Linked DNA regions of Homo sapiens: all the other regions are linked to region 2. The links are contacts of gene promoters, found by promoter capture Hi-C in blood cells and fetal thymus (Javierre and others, 2016). All regions are on one chromosome and are shown on one strand. Each heading gives the region's core, a stretch centred on a gene start or on the middle of the fragment in contact. The rest is flanking DNA. Distances are from core to core; before and after follow the strand shown.

What was found. The method cuts DNA at HindIII sites, captures the fragments that hold promoters and counts their contacts. A CHiCAGO score of 5 or more calls a contact.
Region 1: a contact is called between a fragment that was not itself captured here and the fragment with the promoter of MYB in region 2, in 1 of 17 cell types (fetal thymus). The highest score is 7.8, in fetal thymus.
Region 3: a contact is called between a fragment that was not itself captured here and the fragment with the promoter of MYB in region 2, in 3 of 17 cell types (fetal thymus, erythroblasts and megakaryocytes). The highest score is 10.5, in fetal thymus.

What each region holds. Positions count from the first base shown.
Region 1 is chr6:135,498,348-135,501,937 of GRCh38, forward strand. AHI1-DT (AHI1 divergent transcript) reads left to right here. Exons shown (of 6, transcript NR_152842.1): 2 at 57-170. Among named protein-coding and RNA genes, the nearest start is that of AHI1-DT, 2.3 kb to the left of the region's middle. The HindIII fragment of the contact is 6,529 bases long and covers 1-3,590 here.
Region 2 is chr6:135,179,902-135,183,482 of GRCh38, forward strand. It overlaps MYB (MYB proto-oncogene, transcription factor), which reads left to right and starts at 1,407. Exons shown (of 16, transcript NM_001130173.2): 1 at 1,407-1,635. The coding sequence starts at 1,613. RefSeq lists silencers at 526-635, 1,076-1,125, 1,196-1,415, 1,476-1,525, 2,575-2,654 and 2 more. The HindIII fragment of the contact is 5,797 bases long and covers 1-3,581 here.
Region 3 is chr6:135,441,930-135,445,404 of GRCh38, forward strand. It overlaps AHI1 (Abelson helper integration site 1), which reads right to left. Exons shown (of 29, transcript NM_001134831.2): 14 at 653-785. Among named protein-coding and RNA genes, the nearest start is that of AHI1, 54 kb to the right of the region's middle. The HindIII fragment of the contact is 1,349 bases long and covers 1,158-2,506 here.

The DNA of each region.
Region 1 (3,590 bases), core at 696-3,195, 320 kb after region 2:
ACGCCATCCTTTTCTACACCTAATGCTCCCTCCCACTTTTCTGATTTCTGCCACAGGCGCCATCTTCAGCTCTGAGTCACCAGGGCTGGAAAAATACTAGATGCGCTACTCGTGGACTCGTGAATACACTCGTGAATACAGGCCATTTCCTGTACCTACAGCCACCCGCTGTAAGCTGTTGCTTCATTTGTACAGTAAGAGTTTATGGAGGCCAGCTTTTCCATTCTTACTGACATTGCCACACCTTACAAACTATATGTCTTGTGCTTCCCTAAATCCTGTGAGGAAGCAACGAGAAAGATTACTAATCCAATGCGTACCGAACTGAGCTGTTCAACTTTCCGTTCTAAACATACTCTCCTAGATTTCTATCTTGCTGTAAGCCACCACAATCCTCCCAGTGTTTTAGTAAGAACAGTAGAGTATCCTAAATGCATCTTATGCCAAAGCATATCCATTCTCTCTTTTTAACTTCCTCAGATGGGCCCTTTACCAGTTCTCTGACTCCAGTTTGACTCTTAAATTCTCCACACTGCTATCAGAATGACCTGACTAAAAATGTAAATCGGATAATGGCACTCTCCTGCTGAAAATTTTTGAAAGGCAATCTGTAAGAGAAAATGATTACTTTGCCTAGGATACAAGATTCTCCATCTCCCTGACTAGTTTCATCTCTCGTTAGCTTCTTGTTCCAATTTTATGCAATATTGAATCATGTGTACCATGCAGTTTTATGCAACATTGAATTATGTGTACCATGAAAAACAATCCATAGCCTTTCACGCCCCGTCCTTACTCATATTGTCCTCTCTTCCTGAAAATTCCTCCTTTTACACTCCTGCATCACAGCCAAATGTTGTCCATCCTTTGAATCTTAAGCAGGTTGACTGACTCCTTCAAACACTCCTACTCCCTATTAGACTTCGGATACTCATTCTATATATTAGACTTTGGATGCTCATTCTATAGTTTCATAGTTTACTTTGTATTTTCTCTATCCCCAGCATCTACCACAGTGTCTATGAAATAGTTGGCATTTCATGAACATTTGTTGAATGAATAATGGATAACATATATTGAGCTCCTTCTAGGAGGTATGCATTGTAGGTGTTTTATGTACTTTTCATCTGTCCTCACAACTGCATTTAAGTACCTGCTTTTCCAAAGGGAAGTTATAACTCTGACTGCTCATTCTTAGTAGGGTGTTAGTTTCAGAATACAATCCCCAGACTAGCGGATGTGTAACCCTGTTATCATCTCTTGCTTCTCCATTTACAGTAGCATGCAGAGGTGCAGTGGGGTGGGGGAGGTCAGGGAATATTTCATAGCAGAAGTGACATTTAAGTAAAGACCAAAATAATGTGTAGAGTTGTCCAGGTTAGGAAGGGTTTCCAGGTAGAAGAAGGTGGCGTATAGTGTTCACTACAAGAAAGTTTGGTATAATACAAGAACTGGAAGAAAAAAAAAAAAAGTTCAAGTTGGCTAACTAAAAGGTAGAGAATGAGACTAGGGGCTTTTGGAGGAGACAAAACAAGAGAGTTAAACAAGCTATGAAGAGACCCAGACAGTATTGGTCAGTGGAATACCACTATAGAATTTTATGGAGTGAAATTTTCAAATTTTAATATCATAAAGATAACTCTGGCTGCAGGGTGGAGAACAGACAGGAAGGAAGCAAATCTAGATCTGGGAATACCATTTAAGATGCCGTTGCTGTAAGCCATGTAAGAGACAAAGGTGGCATGGTCAAGGCTAAGAAAAATCAGAATGGAGAGAAATGGACCAATTTGAGAAATTTTTAGGAGGTAAAAATGTCAGGACTTAGTGATTGATTGGATGGAAGAGTGAATGATAAGAAATAATAAAAAACGATGACCAGCTGTTTTGCCTTCCCCTTGGCAAGTAAAGAGGTGGCAAGCATGAAAGGGGAGTGAGGAAATAAATATGTTGGGTCTAATGGGAGCCAGGTTTCTCACTGACAGAGAAGGACGTTACAAATTGAGAGAGGAAGAATTCCACAGTGACCTTTGTGGTGATGTTGAATTGGAATTGAATATGTCAGTGTCAACTCATAGTTTTCAATATATACATAAACATATGTAAAAATAAATATAGAGGAAAGTATGTCTGTATGTGTGTGCGTATCTATCTATTATGCTCTTCCTAGCTCTATCTGCTGAAAGGGTTTCAGAGTAATGGTATACTAGAAGCAATGAGCACATGTGCCTAGATCTTGGTTTCTGAACAGTATTATTCACTAAAAGTAACTGGGTCCCTTGGAGAAATGGTTGATTTTAGAACAGGAGCCTGGAAAATTCTTGTTGCACCAGAAGTTAAGGAAGTTAATACAGAATGAAGAAACATATCAAAAGGTCACAGAAGCCAGCTTGAAGGAGCCACCACTGGCCACATCTGGGTCAATCTGAGCACCAATATAATGTTAATGGATTATAGTCCGCTAAATAAAATAGGAATATTTGAGCCCATACTAAAATGAATAAATGATTTTTTTGAAAAATCAGGATAAAGAAAAGCTCTGCCTTACATAAAAATGCCAACTAAATGTAATGAATGTAGACAGTGTTATATGTAGAAACATCATTATTTGGCAGTCATGATAGTAACAGTTGATTCAGACTAGAATCATCAGTGTATGCTAAAACTAGAGGGTGAGAGTATTAAGAGACATATAATATTTATATAGTCTCAAAGTATCTCTCCAGCAAATACTTATTAATTACACAGAGAAAAATTAGAAAACTTGACAGTGTAGAAATCTGGCACTGGTGAGCGAAGTTACCATCAGCAGTCATGAGACAAATCAGCATCGTGTATGTCCTGGTTAGAGGCACTTAGAATACACTTCTGTGACATTCCTGCCAAAAATGTGTAATCCGAATCAATCGTGAGGAAAAAATCAGACAACCCAAATGTCCCAAATTGAGGGACATTCTACAAAATAATAGACCTGTACTCTTCAAAGATCAAGGTCATGAAAGACAAAGGAACAACTAAAGAACGTTTTTAGATTGAAGGAGAATTAAGATACATGACAATTAAGTGGAATACATGATTCTGAATTGAATCCTTTTGCTATAAGGATATTATTGGGACAACTAACAATTTGAATGGGGTCTCTGGATTAGATGGTAGTATTTTAACAATATTAATTTCCTGATTTTGATGACTATAGTGACATAGATATTTTTGGTTTTAGAAAATACATATTGAAGTATTAAAGGTGATGAGGCTTCATATCTGCAACCTATTCAAATGGTTCAGGAAAAAAGTATACATAAATACTGTAAATAAATATAAACATAAATAATATACATAAAGAAAATGATAAAGCAAATGTTAACAGGGAATTTGGGCGAAAGCAGAAGTTCTTTATACTATTCTTGCAATTTTTCTGTAAGTTTATAATTATTTTAAAACTATAAAAGAAGTTTGAAAGGTGCCGAGGTTTCTGGCTCAGGTAACTGGGTGGAGAATGGCTAATCAGTTAACGACAAAAAATCAGGAAGAGCAAGCATGGAGGAAAAGATGTTTAGTTGCAATGGGATGTATGGAGTGGGATGTTCAGCAGG
Region 2 (3,581 bases), core at 157-2,656:
TAGTCTTGAAACCTCGCATGCTTCACCGTTTAATAAAATTATGACTCATTTTAGTAAGAACATGCTTTTTTAGTAAGAAAAAATGCTTTCTGAGCTAAGTTTGAACTGCTGGGGCACATGGGACACCCACAAACCCAGTCAGCAGAAGTCTCAAACTCCTAAAAGATTAAAGGAAAAATACATTAGTGTGTACAGAGAATGAAAAAAAAATCCCCAATGGTTCTAATCTATAAACGGAAGTAAAACTAAAACTCCCCTAAAATCCCCCCAGTCATCAATCCTTATAAATTCAGCACTTATCTTCTTCCTTTACTTCTGGAGACCCTCATTAAACAACACGAAAGCCTTTGCTGACTTTTATCTCGTAAAATAGAGCCCTCAAATGACACTAAGCAGGGATACCGACCTCCAAAATCACAAACTGTTTTACTTCTAAAACCATGCATGCAAACGTGGGGTTTCCTGAGTTCTGCTAGGGGCGGGCTGTCTGGACCCCCGTGTATTTTTTTTTTTTTTTTTTTTTTTTTTTTTTTTTTGCAGGTGTGCAATCCAGGGTGCGCGCTCTGTGCAGGGAGGGGAGCAAAGGTGTGCGGTGGGCACCGCCTGGGCCGGGCGGGGCGGGGTGGGTGGGGCCCGGGTGTGTGCTGGGGTGAGAGTGAAGGACATGTGACAATACGACGGTGGCGGCTGCAGGATCCGGGAGGGGAGTGAAAGCTCCGCTGGGGCGCTCCATTAGTGAGCGGTGATGGTTGCCGCCCACTTGTATTGAAGCGTCCTTTGTCACTAACAAGTTAAATTAGAGATGTTATTTATTTAAGAAGAAGGAAAAAAAACCCTAGCCAAACAGCCTATGAATACATATGCTCACATCCCCTACTCCTCCAACTCCTAATTTCCCCGTCTCCAGAGGGCACAGTTGTAAACCTTGACGAAAATCCAATCTTCTGTGCGGGAATTTCCCCCCACCGCTTGCCGCCCCCGCGACAGTGAGTGGGAGCTGGAGGAGCTCTGGTCCCGCTGCCCGGGAGCACGCGGAGCCGGGCGACCGCGGTGCGGCAGCCAGGGAGGAGGGGAGGCGGCGGGACTGGGCGCGGGTCGGCGCCGCCGCGACCCGGGAGCGGGGTTTGCTCAGGAAAAGGCGCCGTCGCGGCCCCCGGCCACCCCTCCCTGGCCCCGGGCTCCCTGCCCGCGCGCCTCCCGGGCCTCGCGGCGCGCTAGGCGCACCGCGGCGGCGCGAGCGCCGAATGGGAGCGGCGACCCGGCCAGCCCGGCAGCCCCGCGGGCGGCAGCCAGGGCGACCGCGGAGGCGGCGGGCAGGGCGCGTGCGCACTGCAGGGGCGCCAGATTTGGCGGGAGGGGGAGTGTCCAAAGCTCTTTGTTTGATGGCATCTCTGTTTACAGAGTTTACACTTTAATATCAACCTGTTTCCTCCTCCTCCTTCTCCTCCTCCTCCGTGACCTCCTCCTCCTCTTTCTCCTGAGAAACTTCGCCCCAGCGGTGCGGAGCGCCGCTGCGCAGCCGGGGAGGGACGCAGGCAGGCGGCGGGCAGCGGGAGGCGGCAGCCCGGTGCGGTCCCCGCGGCTCTCGGCGGAGCCCCGCGCCCGCCGCGCCATGGCCCGAAGACCCCGGCACAGGTAACGGGGAGCCGGGCGGGCGGCCGAGGGCGGGGGCGCGCGGGGGCGCGCGGGGCGCCAGGCTCCCGGGAGCAGGTGGGAATTCGTTCCGGGATCATCTGAGGGGCTGTCAGACCCTCCGAGGACCTGGAGCCCCTGCCTCGGCAGCAGAAGCCGCTCCAGAGACTGATGAATGGAAGAGTCTTTGCGGGAAATGTATCCGGACGTTGGGAAGCACGCCCTGCGGCTCATTTTGCAAGTTGCATGGGGATACATTTTTCTTTAGGGGGAAAAAGAAAGCACGTTCCAGCCGAGGGCAGAGCGGTGCCCACCAGCCCCGGGGAGCCCACCAGGTGCCTGGCTTGATGCCGCGGGTGTCGGCGAGGGATCCGCAGCGTAATTGCTGGATGCATTGAGATATGTTTGGACTTGGAAGTGCAGAGCATATGGCAGATACAGGGAAAATGCTGGATTGTTTAGTAGCTGCAGGTAGTTCATTTAAATTTCATTCATTCTTTATGGAGGCGAGGACCAGTGTCAGCTGACAGGCGGCTGAAAAGCAGATTTTAGGGGGATAAAGGGGTCTCTACTTTTGCAAATTGTCTTAAGACCTGGTTTTGGAGGTTCGAATCATTTTTCTCTGAAAGGCTTTTACTTCCACTGCAAACATTGCACGCGCACCCACACGCGCCGCCGTCGCACATGTCACTGCACTTAGGGAGGCTCGCCGGGAAGATGGGTGCAGTCCCTTCACATTTTTGGCCGGACAGATGGGAAGAGGGAGAGGAGGAGGAGGAGGGAAATCCTCGTCCGAACTGTCAGTTGCTCGTTCCCCAGTCTCCACCGGCCTCTGGACTTTCCCAGCAGCACACGCCGGGGCTCCCTGCGAGCGGCGGGTGCCAGGGCTAGCTCGGCAGCCGTCGCAGTCGCCACTCGGCTCAAGGGGACAGAGGCCGGCAGCACCCAAGGCCGCTGCCGCGCAACCGGGACGCGATCCCCGCGGGCTCTGCCCCCAGGCGAAAGGTCCCTGCGCGGCGCGCACACGTGGATGCGGCTGAGGTCGCCGCGCCTTCTCGCACCCTCCTTCAGCCGCCTTAGGTCGCCCCGGCCGAGGCGCGGTGACCGGACAGACCCTCGCGAAGGAGTTCTAAGGCGAAGTCCATGGAGGCAAAGCAAATCCATTCGCCTTTCCTTAGATTGTTTGATTTTCTCCTACTGGTTTGTTGTTGAGCCTGCGGGCGCTGGTCCCCGCGCGGCGCTGGGAAGTTGCAAAGAGCGTGGGTGGAGACCCTGCAGCAGCACCCGCGGGCTGGGCTGGGCGGGGAGCAGCGCCGGGGCTTGGTTGGGCTCTGGGGACGAGAGGGCGACTTGGGGGAGCTCCGGGCTCCCTATGCCTACTCCGGAGCCTGGCCGCGCAGGACGGTGTGCTGCCCCTCGAGGGCTCCACTTTTCGCCTTTAGGACTTCACAGGACAGCTACCGGGGTCATCTGTTTTTTTTTTTTTTTTTTTTTTCGAGAGCTGAAACTGGCAGCAGGAGGAGGGAGTCGGGCAGGGGTGCTGGGAGGAGGCGCGGCAGCGGCTCCGCGCCCCGAGGTCTCGGCCGCCCCCGCGGGGCGGGGCCGCGCAGGTTCCCTGAGGCTCCAGGTAGCCCAGAGGGGAGGCGGCTGGGAGGGGCGGGAGCCTTGAACCTGCCTCAGGGGAAGAGAAACCCGACTGCGGGCTCGGAGCCGTTTCTTGCAAGGGCGAGCGTCAACTCGGCAGGGATTATATTAACCAGGTCAGCGAAATGAGTTTGAACCCCTCCGAATCACAGTAGCGGCCACAAGGCACTTCCTCCCGCTCCCCTCCCTCTTCCTAACCCCCAGCACCTCTTTTCTTTTTCGTTTCTTTGCACGGTTTGTTTCCTTGACAGAATGTAACATTCATAGTTGTACTCTTGTAACCACACCGGGTCTAGCAGGTGGGG
Region 3 (3,475 bases), core at 582-3,081, 260 kb after region 2:
CTGAGGAAAGTTCAATAAGATCTAGTGTTTAGGGCAGATGCCCACAAGGAGCTGGCTACTTCTGCAGAGGAGAGCTGGTTTTATTATTGAGTCAGAAGTAAAGGAGAGAGTATTTAATGCTTCTAAGTCTAGAACAGTATGATAATGCTCACTTTAGAATGTCTCTAAAGCAACAGAAATAATTGCTTGGCCTCTCTGCTGACTTCTCTATCATAATGAGAAGTTTTCATCTAGGTACTCTTGAGTCAATTATTGGTATTCCACTACACAGCAAATCTGGAGGCTTTTGTAACTCAAATCATCACTGCTATCAACTAGCCACATTGGACTAATGTTCCCCATGAGATTTATTCATCCTTGTTTCCAAATTTCTATATTTAAAATACAAAATGTTTACAAAAATCCTCCTGCATGTTTTAAAAATAAATTTACCATCTTTCATTTGATCAATCTCATTCTACTTACGAACAGTTACTGTATAGAAAAGTGTAAAATTATTACAAAAGAACTTTCTTTGTTTGAAGAAATCCGTTTTCTTTAATTTAGTAGTACAGGGGATTACTCAAGTTAAGATTTCCATGAATTTAAAAAAACTAAAGAATGTCCTCCACGTGGACTACAATCAGATTAAACAGGTAGGATTATTACTCACAAATAATTGGATATCCATCCCGGCTGGCACAAGCTGCTGCTAATATTCTTCCATTGTGGGAGAAATCAAGACAAAAACATCCTCGTTCTCCTGCATTTAGTGAGAAGAGGTGTTTGTTTGGGATACGGCAAGCCTAAAAAACATACGTTTAAAAAATATAAATTAGCAAACATTAAAACGCGAAGGCTAGTTTTTAATTTCAATTACTGTAGTTCTTTTAAGTCCTTTTATGATGCAGAGAAAGAGAAAAACAAGTACGCAGAATGGTGAAAAACCATAGTAAATTGCTTTGTAAAAAGAGAATCAGTGTCCATGAAATTTTTAAAGTGGGTTTGTTCTTCATGTTTAAGTAGTACTTAATTCACCTAAATATGAATAGAAAAATTTCAATATCTGATACTCTAAAGCCATCACTGCCACACTGCTTCTATATAGCTACTAAAAGAATGTATGTCACAGCCTTATTCTATGACAGCACTAGTAAGTCACTTTTGTTAAAGTCACAAGCTTTTTTTAAGACCACAAGTACCTATGGGGCCTAGCTTAAGCCAGAATGTATGAATGCTTATTCTCTCTTTGCCTATCTTAAAATAATCACCTTTTGTGGCTGCCTTCCAAAATGTATTTTCAAAGTAATCAATCGGCCCTTATTGGTCTCTCATTCATTATTACAATTTCTTCAAAATTTTAATGTTTTCACCCTCTTCTACCAGATGAAGCCCAAATTTTCTGGGTATTAATGTCTACTGTAGAAAATACCAGTTACGTTTATTTATCCTAATTCTATCTCTTGCAACCTTCAGTGAGCCTTAGTTCTTCTGTTTCTTATAATTCAAAAAGTTGAAGTAAACATATACTGGGCTCTTACTATATGTCATGAAAGTTGTACTTTATTACAAAGGTCTTTGAATATATTCATCACAGCCACCCTATGAGTAGCTATTACTAGCTAAGAGTAACCATTATTAGCTCTATATGGCTAAGAGGGATTATTCAAAGGGTCAAGCCTAGCTTAATGGACCTACTCAAAGACTGTTACTTCAAGGGCATGCTTTCTAGACAGGTACCAGGTTTTTCACAAATAGTACCAAGATCTAGCAGTTCCTCTGGAGACAGCATTATGACCAGCTACTAGGAATGTGAAAAATTCAAAAGAATTTGTTAAGTGTCAATCATGTACCAGACTCCATGCTCCCCATCCTTTCTCTGCATTCTCCAGACTCCATGCTACCCATCTTTTCTCTGCATCCTCCAACCACATAATTAAGAAAAGGGAGAGGAGGGTAACAAGGTAACAAAAACTGAAAGAAATGTCAGGAGGCTTTATAACCACTTGCTGCTGCTCCTAGAGTAGGAAGTGTAATTAAGGAAAACTCTGTGCCCAATCACCTAGGCTGAAAATGAAAACATTGAACCCACTATCATGTTCTTTGTATTCTCAGGGTTTGACTCTGTGCCCTATCCACAACAGACACTCAATGAAAGTCTGATAACAACAATAAAGGTCCTCAAAAGCCTTGACTGTTTCTCCTCCTTTACTACCTTGTCAGTCACTAAATCATGCTGGTTCCTACTTTCTGTCTCTCGTATTCATTAGACCCTCATCACCTCACACATCAATGACTGCCATCTAATTCTGATGTTACTACTTCAAGATCTCCCCATGCCACTGCCTGCATTAATTCATCCTCAAATACAATTGTTATTTTTCTCACTCACCCGAAAACCTTCCATTATTCCTCACATCCCTCACAATCAAGTATTAGGCTACCATTTGAGACACTCCACAATGTGGGCCTCATCCAGTACACTACTTTATCTCCTCTTTTACAAACTCTGGTTTCCAACCAGCTAAGCTTTTGAGTGCCTAATGAATACAACAGGTCCTTTCCCACTTATTTGCAACTTTGCCTTCATATGAAATACCCGCCCTTGTCCCTCCTTCACTCACCCCTACCTTGAGCATCCTAGTCTATCTCAAGCTCCACTGTTGAATGAGCCCTTCTTCCACCATTGTAGTTCAGTCTTCATATCTGCAATTCTCAAATGTTTTTAGTTTCGAGATGCTTTACATTCTTGGAACATTTTTTTGGAGGCTATTTGGAGTTTTCATAAAAATAAAATAAAAGTAACTTGCTAACTTTAAATGTCTAGCTGAATAAAATCTAGATTTTCGTAAGTGCCTCTGCTCTCTTGTGATATCACGTTATTTAGCCTCTAGAAAATGCTAGTACATACTTGTAAGAGAATGAATCTGAATGAGACTAGTAACACCTTAGAATCATTATGAAAAGAAGTTGACTTCAAGAACCCCCTGAAAGGGACTCAGAACTCCCAGAGGTCTCCAAACTACATTTTGAGAACTGCTGATCTGTACAATCATCTTTATACCTACATTTCCTCATTTCATCAAGACTTCTCTGAAGCATATCTGAAAATAAACAACAATGTAACTGCTTTCTTTTCCCACCTAACTTGGAAGTTCCCCAAGGGCATAATCTAAGTGTTATTCTCTCCATATCATGCTTAAAGTATTCTAACTCAAAGTGATTTTAAAATGTATCTGTAAAATCAGCCTCAAAAAGAAAGTCAAATGTGATATAAAATATAGAAAATGAAGATGAATAAGTAAGAATAGTAAGCTCTTATTTCTACATTAGATGTTTGAATAAATTAAGATTTTGGATAAATTTCATCTGGTAGCAGCTCATATGCATAAAATAAACCACTTCATTCTTTATAAAAACAAGTAAAACATTGCAAAATTGTATCAGCAATGCTTCTTGCCACTGCATAAAATGCTAATCTAGTAAGAACACTTTA